2 separate regions of the Homo sapiens genome follow, and region 2 is linked to region 1. Evidence: promoter capture Hi-C in 16 types of primary human blood cells and fetal thymus (Javierre and others, 2016). All regions are on one chromosome and are shown on one strand. Each heading gives the region's core, a stretch centred on a gene start or on the middle of the fragment in contact. The rest is flanking DNA. Distances are from core to core; before and after follow the strand shown. Region 1 holds the start of TMEM252 (transmembrane protein 252). Region 2 has its middle 6.3 kb from the start of MIR4477B.

The links. Contacts are between HindIII fragments. The CHiCAGO score rates a contact against its expected background, and 5 or more counts as called.
Region 2: a fragment that was not itself captured here is called in contact with the fragment with the promoter of TMEM252 in region 1 in 2 of 17 cell types (M0 macrophages and monocytes); the score reaches 6.7 in M0 macrophages.

Annotation. Positions count from the first base shown.
Region 1 is chr9:68,535,708-68,543,068 of GRCh38, reverse strand. TMEM252 (transmembrane protein 252) reads left to right here and starts at 2,186. Exons shown (of 2, transcript NM_153237.2): 1 at 2,186-2,532; 2 at 5,576-6,489. The coding sequence starts at 2,255. The coding sequence ends at 5,810. TMEM252-DT (TMEM252 divergent transcript) reads right to left here and starts at 2,044. Exons shown (of 5, transcript NR_187592.1): 1 at 1,839-2,044; 2 at 427-691. The HindIII fragment of the contact is 3,743 bases long and covers 1-2,661 here.
Region 2 is chr9:63,821,974-63,829,741 of GRCh38, reverse strand. No RefSeq gene overlaps it. Among named protein-coding and RNA genes, the nearest start is that of MIR4477B, 6.3 kb to the right of the region's middle. RefSeq lists enhancers at 407-1,015, 4,796-5,297 and silencers at 1,213-1,507, 4,073-4,367. The HindIII fragment of the contact is 4,094 bases long and covers 4,106-7,768 here.

The DNA of each region.
Region 1 (7,361 bases), core at 937-3,436:
AGTGCAGACCTTTCAGCTGGGGGTCCTGGGTCTTCCACAGATTTTTGGAATTGTAACAGCAATGATAATAACAATATTGGTGATGGTGATTATAGATAACCTTCACAGGGCACTCTCTGTGCCAGGTACTATGATAAATACTTAACATTGATTGTCTCTTCTGATTTTCAAAGTTCTAAGAGAATTTTTTTAGTTATCTACTGCTATCTAAAAAATGGCCACAAAACTTAGCATATTTTTAAAATATACTTTTTTTAAACTTTTGACCTCTTTTATTTGTTAAAATAGTGACATCCATAAACATGAAATGATTTGATCATAATGCATTCATTGATTATGGCTCTTGCCATCTTGTGGCATCCAGGACCCTGGCTGAAACGTTTTATCTCACAGTTTCTGTGGGTCAGGAATCCGAGTATGACTTACCTGGGTCCTCTACTTCAGGGTCACTGAGTCAAGGTGATGCTTGGGAGCAGAGTCATCTCAAGGCTCAGTGGGATGAGGATTTGATTGCAAGCTCACGTGGTCATTGACAGGATGCAGTTCCTCATGGGCTGACGGACTAAGGGCCTCAGTTCTTCAGTGACTGTTGGCCAGAACCTGCCCTCAATTCCTTGCCTCATGGGCCTCTCCAATATGGCAGCTTCCTTCTTCAAAGGGCGTAAGCCAAGAGGACAATAGAGAGAGTCTGCTAGAAAGATGAAAACCACAATCTTGTGTAGCCTCCACGGAAGTAACTTCCGATCACCGTTACCATATTCTATTGATTAGAATGAAGTCACTAGGTCCAGCCTACACTCAGGGGAGAGGATTACTTACACAAGGACATGAATATCAGGAGGTGGGATCCTTAGGGATCATCTTAGAAATATTCCATCTCACAGTTTGGGGAAGGAGGGAATAAGAGCTGTTTTAAGATTACAAAGACAATATCAAGACTAGAAGATCAAGGTAGTTCAAGGTCGAAATTGAAGCTAAGAAAGGTAAAGGCTAAGGGTTGGAATGGAGAAGTGCCTTATATAGTTTTTGATCCATAGTGTGTACCTCTCTAATATCCGTGTCTCCCAGCCCTAACATGAAGGTAGAGCTAAGGAGATGGTGAGTGTGAGACTAAAGGTTATATGAGGGATTATTAGGGCACGCCACAAAAAACTGCTGCTCTCATTGGGAAAGTAAATGGAAAATAATGGTAATGGAGTAGTGGAGTGGAACAGCAGCAAAGAGGAACTGAAGATAAGCTATCCTGAGTAAAAGCAACCCAGGGTTCCTATGGGAAGGAGACTTTTGGCAGAGACATGCCACATTATCAAATAAAAAAGGGCAGAGCCAGGGCATAAAGCACGTCTGAAATAAGCTATCCACAATCAAAGACAGTCAAGCTAAAGAAAACAAATTCCAGCCAGGAAACAGAAGGCTGGTTCTGGAAAGATTTTTTGAGGCAATGCTACATAGAGCAGAGGTGTGGAGGAGAGGACAGGGAACATTTTTAGCAGCATCCTCTAAAACGAATTCTATTTCATATGTACTTTATGAAAGGGGGAAAGATTGCAGGAATTACAGGCCCAAAATCCCCCCAAATTCCCGAGGCTCTGTCTATTATAGTCCTTTTCTCCAGCACTCTCCTTTCCCTCCCACTCAGGCTCTTTCGATCTTGTCAACAGAGCAGGAACCACGAAGTTCACACTCTGAACTTCTGTCTTGGAATTATGCCAGTATCATAGTGTGGGGGCAATAAGTGGGGATTCATTGAGGGAGGCAAGACAAACATGTTAACAGCCTTGAAGAAATGCCTTTTTAGTACAGAAAAAGGGAGAAGGAATCAGGAAGGGATTTCTTACCAAACCTCAAAGAAGATCGTTCTTTAAAGAGTGCTAACTTCTCCAGCTTTTAGTGGGGAATTGCCCTCCATGGGGATTAAGAGACCAGCGCCTTTTAATCAAAGGAGGGCTGTACGTTCAAATAACTGGGAACAGCTGAGTGTCCCACCCAACTCTGAAGAACAAAACAGCTACACGAAGCCACTCCTGCCTGCAGTATACAATGCTATGTTTTTTGGCTAATTCTCCAAGGATATTACACTTACTTTCAATGGTTAATGAATAGCTTCTAAGTGCCTGTTTCATTTAGTTGTCCAAAGGCCAGTGGGTCCCAGAGCATATAAAGCTGCAAGCTGGCTAATGAGCTCATTCTCTTGGAGCAAGCAGGGAAGCAGAGGAGCAGCAGGGTCAGGGTGCTGGGTTCCTAAGGTGCAAGGATGCAGAACAGAACTGGCCTCATTCTCTGTGCTCTTGCCCTCCTGATGGGTTTCCTGATGGTCTGCCTGGGGGCCTTCTTCATTTCCTGGGGCTCCATATTCGACTGTCAGGGGAGCCTGATTGCGGCCTATTTGCTTCTGCCTCTGGGGTTTGTGATCCTTCTGAGTGGAATTTTCTGGAGCAACTATCGCCAGGTGACTGAAAGCAAAGGAGTGTTGAGGCACATGCTCCGACAACACCTTGCTCATGGGGCCCTGCCCGTGGCCACAGTAGACAGGTACGTGCTGACAGGCAGAGGGACCAAGAAGGGCTGAGATGGGCTGAGTTGTGTAAGATCTGAGTAATTTCTGATCCTACTATGGAGCGACTTACATGTCCCATGGGCTGTCTGTCTAGAACCAAAGCTTTATTGTCAGGGAATTACTCTGGGGTTGTTATTAGGAAGAGTGGCGCCATCTTTGGGGAAAACCATGACGCAGGGGCAACTCATCTCAGAGAAACCCTACCACCACCCCCAGTGAAAACCCACCTAAGCCAATTTAGAAACCCAGGCTCTTTTGTTATATCATGGCAGCTGTCATTAATTAGTGGCAGGTGATGGTTAGTTACTTCCCATAACCTGGCTATGAGGTTCTAAGGAAAGCAAGTCCCAGACCAAATTCTGCCACACAACAAATGAAGAAGCAGGCATAAAATGAGTCCTGGAATCTCTGTGAGCTCAGAAAAGTCCCAGTTTACTGTCCTTTTAGGTGTTGTGATCTCACCTTGCATAAAACATTCCTTCAGGGGAAGGTGATAATATTCTAGAGGCAAGATTCATTCTTTCTCGCCATCTCATACATTAGGATAGTTATCATCAAAAAACAAAACCAAACAGCTAGTGTTGGTGAGGATGTCAATAAATTGGAACGCTGTGCATTGCTGGTGGGAATGTTAAAATGGTGCAACCACTGTGGAAAACAGTGTGGAGACTCCTCTATACATTAAATATTGAATTACTGTTTGATCTGGCAATTCTACATTCTGAGTTTATACACAAAGGAACTGAAAGCAGGGATTCAAATGGATGTTTGTACACCAATGCTTGTAGCAACATTTATTCATAATAGCCCAAATGTCCATCAACAGGTGAGTAGATAAACAAAATGTGGTATATACATGCAATGGAATATTAGCCTTAAAAAGGAAGGAAATCCTGGCACATGCCACCACTTGGATGAAGTTGAAAACATTATGCTAAGTGAAACAAGTCAGTTACAAAGGGCAAATATTGTATAATTCCACTTACATGAGTACTTAGCGTAGTCAAATTCACAGACACAGAAAGTAGAACAGTGGTCCCAGGGGCTGGTGGAAGGAGAGACTGGGGACCTATTGTTTAATGAGTAGAGAGTTTTAAGGTGATGGTTGTAGAGCAATATGAGTGTATTTAGTGCCACTGAGCTATACACTTAAAAACAGTAAATTTTATGTCATATATATTTTACCACAAGAAAAAAAAGATTCAGTTAATCTTATAGTCAGTATCAGGCAACAAGAAACCTCCTAATTCTTGGCTAGCCACAGGACCATTTAGGGATAACACCCTAGGCATCATTCTCAAGATACAGGCTACAAGACTATAATTATTTTGCCCTCTTCGTGCAAGAGTAGAAAGTATCTAAAATATTTTAGCTACTCCATGTATCTTGAATATAAGTAATCTTACCCATGAGCATCCACTTTTGGCATCCTTTATGCTAATTAATAAGATAATAATTATGAAAACCAAAACTTATTTCCAATGTTATACTAACCAGCAGAGTTTCTGGGTTTGATTAAAAATTAAGAGAAATGAAGTGATTGTAGAAGATGCCTCTAGAGTGATGATTTCTTTTTGTATAAATGTTAGAGGACTACCTCTAGAGTGTGAATTTCTGATAAATGTAACTGATTGCCTTTAGGATATAGCTTAAATTGACTAACACTGCATAATATTACAGTATACTGAAATGTTTGAAAGTAAATTATGGACATCGTAACACCCCCATTTTACTGCCTCTTCTCGCTGCATGTAATAAGATGCTTATCCCACGCAGAATGGCTGGCAAGTCAGCCTGGGAAGTCACATTTCTCCAAAGCATTTGCACTCAAAATGGATACCCAGGTTGAGATATCAAAGCAAATGGGTCTCCGATGATGGAATTCAGGGGACTGGGAATATGGATGGCAGTTGAAGGAGGGTGGGGTTGGGAGAGGTAGCTGGGATTTGGGGCAGGCAGCAGTCATCCTGGAACCTTTCACATCACTCCAGGGAACATCTCACCTTTCTGTGTAAAATGCCTTTACACATGTGCCCCGTGACTCAGCCTTGGCTATTCTGAGCGAAGGCTGAGATTTATGCCTTATAGTAGACAGCTTCTTCAGCTACTGGCTTTGGGCCTGGTAACATTTGGAATGGAGTTGTGGCTACAAATGGCAGTCCCTGTTCTGTTGTGGTTACACACCATAAACACTCCCTGTAGGCACTGGAAGGATCACTCTATAAATACACAACTCAGCCAAGCTCACCGGTCTCTCTTCCTCCCCTCTCCCCTTCCCCCAAATTCATTCATGATGGAGAAGCCAGGAGGATTTAGCAATTAGAAATGCCAGGCAAGATGACCAATGAGTACATCAGCCCCCGAATGAATGGCTGCTTTAGCCTACTGGCATAGAAAGGGCTACAACTGAAATCTGTGTAAAGTTGTCAGTTGATATCATTTGAGAAATGAATATGTTTGTATATTTTCTTTGAAACTAGCTACTGAGTCTCGAAAGGGTGTTAGGATAGAGACATGGCATCTGGTATAGTTCAGGGATCAGCACAGAGTTGGTTTTCATTCATTATTTTGTTGGCTGTGATGATCAGAGAAAGTGAGTGCAATTGAGGGGATGATGCCATGCGAGAAAGGGAGCAAGGATGTGGATGGACTAAGTACTCGGTAGAGAGAAGTTCCCTATCCAAAGCCCCCACCTCCTCTAATGTTGACAAGGATCTCACACTGAATGGCCCTGTTTTCATGAGTGAATGAGCAATAGAGAAGGAATAGCTTGGCATAACCCACTGGGAAAAAAATGTGACTAGAGGCAGGCATCCTGTGGCTGATAAAAAGGTTCTTTTGGAAGAGCAGCACATTTTTAAAAAACTGGTGATGCCAGGAAGAAGTACATCTGTTTCAAAAATCCATGTTTCTTAACAGTTTAGCTTCGCACAATTTGAGCTGAGAGAGGCAGCCGTCTGCCTCTTTGGCATTAATGCCTAAATAACGCACGCATGTTTATGCTGTTTTGTCCCCTAGGCCAGACTTTTACCCTCCAGCTTATGAAGAGAGCCTTGAGGTGGAAAAGCAGAGCTGTCCTGCAGAGAGAGAGGCCTCTGGCATTCCTCCACCTCTATATACAGAGACGGGCCTGGAATTCCAGGATGGAAATGACTCCCACCCAGAGGCCCCACCATCTTATAGAGAGTCCATAGCCGGCCTGGTGGTGACAGCAATCTCAGAGGACGCCCAGAGGCGAGGCCAAGAGTGCTGAGGCAGAGAAAGCTCTCCAGCACTCATGATGCCACCACTGTGGGGAGCAGCTACTGATAATAAAGGCAAACGAGGGACTGTGGGAGGAAAAGCCACACCAGGGACCCCACAAGAGAGCTTGGGGAGGGGATGACAGCCCTGAATTCCAGACATAACTGGCCATGCCAGGGCAGGGCAGGCCAGGGGCCCTGGAAGGGTGTGGCCAACACCAAGCAGACATTTCAGAGCATTCACACTAATCTTAACCCCGGCTGGCCTTGGGTCCCCAAAGGTGTCACTCTGAGAGCTCTGCTTACAGAGATTCTTTCTGCTGTCACTCAATTTCCCTCCCATCACCTCAACTCCAGCCAGGGAGGAATAGATGCTGGTTGTCAGGACAGCCACATGCCTTCCTGTTCTATATCACCTAGTAATCTCAAAGCGAAGGTTTGTTGTTTAATTTATTGATTGTTCAGCCTTTTGTTTTGTTAGCTTGTTTCCTAGTTACCTCCAGCTGACCATACTACCAGAGTGAGGCAGTACTTCACATCCTGGGAGATATGCCCTCGGAACCCATGAATGTTATTTTGTATTATTTTATTTTCATGATATGTATTTTTTCTATGTAAAAGGAAAATGACTGTAATATTTGCCTTCAAGATGGTTCAAACACAAAATATTAAATGAGCTGTTTCTTAAAAGAGGTCCTTAAACAAATAGACATGATAAGAATGCTTATAGACCCAAATGGAATAGACAGAATACTTAATTCATAATACATGGAATTCCGGGGTGTAGGGTGGAATTTGTACTGGCCACAGATGGTATTAATATACCACTTGATATAAATCTTATAAAGGTTAAAAATATTTGTATGTAATTCAAAGAATCCCCATATAAATCTCTAGAATTTGAAAGATAAGAAACTCTAATGATGTACGTTCATCATTAACAGGAAATTTCTTGTGTCTCAAGATACAGATCTTGACTTTTAGACTTAGGACATTCATTTTTAAATCCGATGGTTTCTCCTCAACTTTATTATATTTTATTGTTTTTTTAAATACAAGAGGACAAGTCTGGTTGCAGGGTGGTAGACAGAGATGCAGCCTGATGCTTTTGAACTTGGGCCAAGAATCTTCATCTCTCCGGGCCTCAGTTTTCTCCTCTATTAAGTGAGGCATTCATGCTGGCTTCACAGTTGTGGAATGCCTGTTATATGGCAGGCTCTGTGCCATGAGCTTTCCATGCGTGTTAGCCCTCATTCCATCTTTAAGAGACAGGCATTATGATTATTCCCATTTTACATATGCATAAAACTGACATTGTGAGAAGTTAAGAAACTTTTCCAATAACACAATGACTTCTAGGAGGGTGAAGAACGGTTCCTAGAGGAACATGGGAGGACTGACTGACTTCACACTTTTGAGCTAGGTAGCCCTGTCTAACTTCTCTCCTTCTAGGAGACAGTTTGGATTTCTCTCTCCCTTCAGAAAATGGGCTGTAACAGAAAATGGAGCCCCAGGGTTGCTGCAATATCTTAAAGCCCTTGGAGAAGTGGCAGAGATTGCTT
Region 2 (7,768 bases), core at 4,903-7,402, 4.7 Mb after region 1:
TTTATTTGCACAATCAACTTTTTCTTTTCCCCCAGAAATTGCAAATTCTTATGTGAGAGGCAGCTTTCCGGAGTCTGCAAGCATAGATTATCGTCTCTCTTTTGATGGTAAATTTCTTATATCCTCACCAACAATAAAATACTTACATATAATTTTGGCATGTCATATTGATTGCCAACTACAAGTAAGAATATTCCTTGATTTTAAATCTAGATTAATTATGAAAATTTGAGTAGCCACAAAAAATTATTGTGTACAAATTTATAGACCTCTTCTTAGGATTAAATGAGTTAATATTAACTAATATTTGTTGTGTAGTTAAGGTATGGCAGAAGCTTCCTATGTACTATTTCATTTTATACTTAAAACAATATTCCATGCAAAATGCTATAATTTCCCTATACCTCCAATTTGCACATGATAAAACTGGGCCTCGTAAAGTTTTCACCCCAGAGTTCTCTGCTTAGTAAGAAGTAGAAGGAAGTCTAAACCTAGGTCATCTGATTTCAGAGCCCATATAGTTAAAATGCTCTAAATGCAGCTTCCCATGGTGATGGTGACTATGAGAGCCTGTCACATATGATGTAGGACCCCAGTGCTTCCCTGTAACATGTGCAAGATTCCTGTGATGACGGTGACTATGAAAGCCTGTCACATACGATGTAGAACAGTGCTTCCCTGTAACATGCGCAAGATTCCCATGATGATGGTGACTATGAGCCTTTCACATATGACGTAGGACAGTGCTTCCTCTGTAACATGCACAAGATTCCCGTGATGATGGTGACTATGAGAGCCTGTCACATATGATGTAGGGCCCCACTGCTTCCTCTGAAACATGCGCAAGATTCCCGTGATGATGGTGACTATGAGAGCCTGTCACATACGATGTAGGACAGTGCTTCCCTGTAACATGCAGAAGATTCCCGTGATGATGGTGACTATGAGAGCCCGTCACATATGATGTAGGACAGTGCTTCCCTGTAACATGTACAAGATTCCCGTGATGATGGTGAGTATGAGAGCCTGTCACATATGATGTAGGACAGTGCTTCCTCTGTAACATGCACAAGATTCACCCGTGGATCTTATTAAAATGGAAACTCATAGACCACACTTTGACTAGCTAAGATAGGAGCATTTAAATGGATGTCTTGGTGACAGTGCTAAGATGCTACTGTTCATGTGGGCACTGGCTCACCATATTAATGAAGCTTAGGACCTCCAGTCCCGGCTGGAAAAGAAATACAGATACATAGGATGTGACTGTGCATATGGAATGTCTGTTGTGTTCTGGACATTGTACTAGACAATAGAGATAAAAAGTCAAATATCCCTTGCCTCTATCTGAAAGGAGCTTCCTACTCAGTGGCTTCTGACTGCAGTGTATATGTTCTTTTCTGTCCTGGGTGGGTGAGCTCTATCTCAATGTTGGTAACTGAACACTGCCCAATGGGTTTGATGAGGGAGATCATAGCTAGCTGTGCTCCCACAAAGCTATGACCATAGCATATCTCGTGATGCCATTTCCCCCTTGTCAGAAGGGTCCCTCCAGTATCATACATGCTCCCCATGATTATAAATTCTTCCTCTTTGCACTAAATGTTCCTAAATCTTGCAAAGATAAAAACATAAACCACATTCTCATCATATTAGTTATATAAATATATATGCACCCAATACAGGAGCACCAAGATTCATAAAGCAAGTCCTGAGTGACCTACAAAGAGACTTAGACTCCCACACATTAATAATGGGAGACTTTAACACCCCACTGTCAACATTAGACAGATCAACGAGACAGAAAGTCAACAAGGATACCCAGGAATTGAACTCAGCTCTGCACCAAGCGGACCTAATAGACATCTACAGAACTCTCCACTCCAAATCAACAGAATATACATTTTTTTCAGCACCACACCACACCTATTCCAAAATTGACCACATACTTGGAAGTAAAGCTCTCCTCAGCAAATGTAAAAGAACAGAAATTATAACAAACTATCTCTCAGACCACAGTGCAATCAAACTAGAACTCAGGATTAAGAATCTCACTCAAAACCGCTCAACTACATGGAAACTGAACAACCTGCTCCTGAATGACTACTAGTTACATAACGAAATGAAGGCAGAAATAAAGATGTTCTTTGAAACCAACGAGAACAAAGACACAACATACCAGAATCTCTGGGACGCATTCAAAGCAGTGTGTAGAGGGAAATTTATAGCACTAAATGCCCACAAGAGAAAGCAAGAAAGATCCAAAATTGACACCCTATCATCACAATTAAAAGAACTAGAAAAGCGAGAGCAAACACATTCAAAAGCTAGCAGAAGGCAAGAAATAACTAAAATCAGAGCAGAACTGAAGGAAATAGAGACACAAAAAACCCTTCAAAAAAATTAATGAATGCAGGAGCTGGTTTTTTGAAAGGATCAACAAAATTGATAGACCGCTAGCAAGACTAATAAAGAAAAAAGAGAAGAATCAAATAGACACAATAAAAAATGATAAAGGGGATATCACCACCGATCCCTCAGAAATACAAACTACCATCAGAGAATACTACAAACACCTCTACGCAAATAAACTAGAAAATCTAGAAGAAATGGATAAATTCCTCGACACGTACACTCTCCCAAGACTAAACCAGGAAGAAGTTGAATCTCTGAATAGACAAATAACAGGATCTGAAATTGTGGCAATAATCAATAGCTTACCAATATTAGTTATATAATAATGATAAAAGTTCCTTACTTTTCTTTCTTTCTTTTTTTTTTTTTTTTGAGACGGAGTCTTGCTCTGTTGCCCAGGCTGGAGTGCAGTGGCGCGATCTTGGTTCACTGCAAGCTCCGCCTCCCAGGTTGACAGCATTCTCCTGCCTCAGCCTCCCGAGTAGCTGGGACTACAGGCACCTGCCACCATGCCTGGCTAATTTTTTGTATTTTTAGTAGAGACGGGGTTTCACCGTGTTAGCCAGGATGGTCTTGATCTCCTGACTTTGTGATCCGCCCACCTCAGCCTCCCAAAGTGCTGGGATTACAGGCGTGAGTCACCGCGCCCAGCCCAAGTTCCTTACTTTTCATGTGTTTAATATTTTCTCCCAGTTTATAGAATATATTGATTGAGAATAAATTTTAGCCACGCATATCTATTAAAAACTTCATGATACACTTTGCTATTTTTAAATTTCTTATGCTCTTATAAAATGTGTGTTCTGGACTCATGTTGGCTTCCATTTCTTCCCTCTGGCTTCTGTTAGTTTAGGCTATGAGCAGAGATGGACAAGGTGGCTACTGTAATGGATCAAGGCTATGAGCATCTAGTGAAGTAGGATGTTAAATCTGTAAATATCAGAATGAATCCAAACTTATCAATTCAAAACTGCATTGTAAAACAGCTCAAAAAAGACTAAAAACACAGCTCTACACTTTAGGAGGCTGAGGCAGGCAGATTGCTTGAGCTCAGGAGTTGGAGACAAGTCTAGGAAACATGGAAAAACCCTGTCTGTACAAAAAAATATATTTTTTAATTAGCTGGGTATGGTGGTATGAGCCTGTGGTCGCAGCTTTTCAGGAGGCTGAGGTGAGAGGATTTCTTGAGCCTAGAAGGTAGAGGCTGCAGTGAGCTCTGATCACGCCACTGCATTCCAGCCTAGGTGACAGAGTGAGACCCGTTTCAAAAACAAACAAAGAAAAATAACTGAAAAAAACAGGTCTAAACGAAGGTGGCCAGAAAAGTAGCTCAACTTGTTCCTGTCTGGTTAAATACAAACATAAATGAACTACTTATATGCTTCAGTGGCTTCATAATGCTGAAAGCAAAGTCAATTGTTCTAGCAGGTTCTGGAAACCTTATCATATCATGGGGTTCAATGAAAATATCAAATCATAAATAAAATAATCAAATCTGAAAGTGAATCTTGTTTCAAAGACCTCAGAAGCCACTGTGTCGGAAGCTCTTTTCAAATACAGACAAGGGATTATTTGACTCCTTATCTCTGTTGTCTAGCACAATGTCCAGAACACAACAGATATTCCATATGCACAGTCACATCCTATGTATGTGTATTTCTTTTCCAGCAAGGACTAGAGGTCCTAAGCTTTATTTATATGGTGAGCGAGCCAGTTCCCAAATGAGCAGGAGAATCTTAGCACAGTCACCTACACACTCATTTCAATGCTCTGGCCCCTTATCCAAGCTAGTCAAAGTGTGGTCTATGGTTTTGCATTTTAAGGAGATCCCCGGGCGAATCTTGTGGCTGTCAAAGGCGGAGAAGCACTGCCGAAAAGGTGAACTAATTTATCGAGGTAGGCTGGCTATTTATTTATTTATCTTGTTGATGGGAAGATTCAAATTGACATACACAATCACCTCCATAAAGATTTCAGGTAAAAAACAAAGGTTTAGATATCAGATGTGTTTTACAATTACCACACCACTCTTTACTACAGCATCCAGTAGCACATTTCCAATAGACTTAGGTGAAAATTTCTAACTCATGAGCCTTCTGTCAGTACTTTTAAAATTGGATACTCAATAAATAGTGGCCAAATTGAATCTCTTACAGGCATCTCACTCAAACTGCAGTCATACTTTCCAATAGGCCCCATAAAAATCCTTGTTCTGGAGCAATCTAATATATTTATCCACCTCTTTAGACACTTAGGTAAGTATAATAATACAAGTTTGTGTGTGTGTGTGTGTATTGTGTACCTTGTGGCCTCTTGCCCAGTTTCTGCAACACCTGAAGCTGAGGCAAGTTTAATGTAAATAACGTCCAGCAATGTTAGAAATGTTGACTTTTATGTGTCCATCAGGAAAAAAGGATGAATGTTATTGTAGAGGAAATTTTCATTCTGGAAAAAATGCATACTGTTTGAATATTACTTTCATGCTTTCCACAGATATTATACACAGATATTATATTCCAAGGGTTATGTTTCAAAGTCATCAAAAATAGAAAATACCTTTTATATTTCTAGCTGAAAATAATAACAGTGATTAGCCTACCTTTGGAGAAATGTGATAAAAATACTAATGACCATCACAACTGATTAAAAGCATAAAATGTGCAATGATTTAAACTACATGTTCTTTATATGAATTATATGCATAGAAATATAGACACATTTGATAAATTCTATTTAAAGTCTGAGTGCTTTGGTAAATGATTCAGTCATCTGTAGATTGAAGGGATTACTTTTATCTGCCTTCATAGTGAGAATTAGATTTCTATTCTTTATAAAGCAGGGAATATAGATTGTGCATGGAGTAAAAGCATTCAATCATTATTAATAATGATGGTAGCGGCGCTGCAGAGGAGAAAGCCTGTCAGAGTAACGTATTCAGTTTTACATCATAATCAGAGTGTGTCGATCTCTGCTGAAGGCAGAATTAAAAAGCCCTTCAACATTTTTTAAATAATAGATGAAAAACATATCAGAGTCACTTTTAAAAATTTGAATTGACGATTCCACATAACAGGAAAAGGACCAAGAACATCTTAAAGAAATACTTCACGATGAAAGTGATGTTTTAAGTGCAATTTCATCAAGGAGAAGTTTTTCCAGAAAGTCTTTTGACCTCAGGAAGAATCTCATTAGTTTACTCTGGTAAATAGTTTCTAGTAAAATGAGAAAGAGTTGACTTTTTAAAAACAATAAAAAATTTACACGGTTTAATCTCATGTTGTGATTTCGAAAGTGCTGCTTGGGCCCTCATAGTTATGCATGTGTATTTATACGCATTTTCTTGGCTCACTCAAACGCCAATAAAATACTTTACTATCCAGGCTCCTTAAAAGCCAAATTAATTTCTAAAAGTGAGGATTGTATGTATTCTGTGAGGTGTGTGCAGGTGTATGCATGATATGTGTGTGTGGTCTGTGTGTGTAGTAGGTACACGGGGTATGTATATGTGTGTGTGGAGTGTATTGTGGGTGTTATGTGTGTATACTGTGTGTAGTATGTGGGTGGTGCATGGTGTGTATATGTGCTGTGTTTGTGGTGTATGTGTGTTTGGTGTGTATGTGTACTATATGTGATGTGTGCATGTGATATGTGTGTGGTGTATGTGATGTGTGTGTTTTGTGTGTGTATGATGCTGTGTGTGTGCAGTGTGTGTAGTGTTTGATGTGTGCTTGATGTGTTTGTAGAATGTGTGTGTGGTGTGGTGTATGTATGTGAGGTATGTGTTTGCTCTATGTGTGTGGCACTGTATGTACGTGTGCAGTGTGTGGGGAGTATGTGTGGGGTGTGTGGTGTGTGTGGGGAGTATGTATGGGGTGTGTGATGTGTGTGGTGCTGTATGTGTGTGATGTATGTGTAGTAGATTCGTGTGTGGTGTGGGGGTATGTGCACGGGTACATGTACTGTGTGGTGTGTGTGATGTCTGTGGGGGGGTGTGTGTGCACATGATGTGTACACAGTGTGTGTGGTGTCAGAGGTATGCATGTGTGCACATCGTGTGTGTACAGTGTGTGGGGTGTGTGCATGTATACATGGTGTGGGTGCAGTGTGGTGTCTGTGTGTGGTGTCTGTATGGGGTGTATGCATGTGCACATGGTGTGTGTGCAGTAGGTGTGTTTGTGGGGTGTGGGCAGTGGGTATGGGGTGTGTGTGTGCATGCGCACATGGTGTGTGTGCTGTTTGTGTGGTGTCTGTGTGTGGGGTGTGTGTGCATGTGCACATGGTGTGGTGTGTGCAGTGTGTGTGTTATGAGTGACTGCTTTTAGCATGTGGACATCAGTCTTCCAGACCAGCTTTCTCCATGTGTCTGGGAACATAAGAAACAAGTTTCTGCAATAATTGTTACACAGCTTTTCCAGAGAGGGACCAAATCTCTGTCGTGAGTGGGTATCTGCATCATTTCGCAGGAGGGAATGTGATGTCCTGGCTTGGCTCACACCCTCTGTGGGTTTAGGCACGGGTTCCTGCTGGATCCCTCACTGTGGCCAGAGAGGGAGGGCTCTGTTTCACCACAGGGCACCAGAAGAGGACTGGTGCGTGGGAAGACCAGGTAATCATAATGCTATTAATAATAGCAGTAATCATATTGTTTTATACATTGTATATGTCATAAGGATTTTAACTTTCATGTAACATAATTGCTGTAAAAGTTTCCCCAGTTTGTTTTGTGCTATTTACCTGGTGTTAAAATGTTTAAGAATTTACATATTAGGTACGTTAGGTTTATTCCTTTTTATATGGTTTCTGTTTGAAATTTTGGTTTTAGAAGACATTCATTCTCAAGGTCATAAAACACACACATCTAATTTTCTTTTTTCTCTCTCTTTTTTTTTTACATTTAATACTGGAATTAACTTTTATGTAAGGTGTAGGACCATGATTCAATTCTGTCATTTTATATTCTGAAATCATTACCCAATATTTTAATACCACAAATGGAACAATCGCTCTGTTTTGTGGGTTTAAAATGTTACCCTGTTACTAGATAAAATTACACTCAATTTCTGTGTTTTTAATTCTCTTTCATTAATGTGTTTATTTTTGTGCCATTTCAAATTTGTTTAATTTTGGATAGTGATAATAATCTTAAATATCTTATAGTAAATTTTATAATAATGGCTCTCATTGTATGTGTGTGTTCAATATATGGATTTAAAATCACATGTTCTTGTTCGAAAATATTTTTCTTGGAATTTTTATTGGAATTTGAGCATATTTTTAAATGATTTACAGCCAACTAAAGAGTTAATATTATTGAGTCCTGTCATCCAGAATGTGACATGCAAATTCCTCAGAC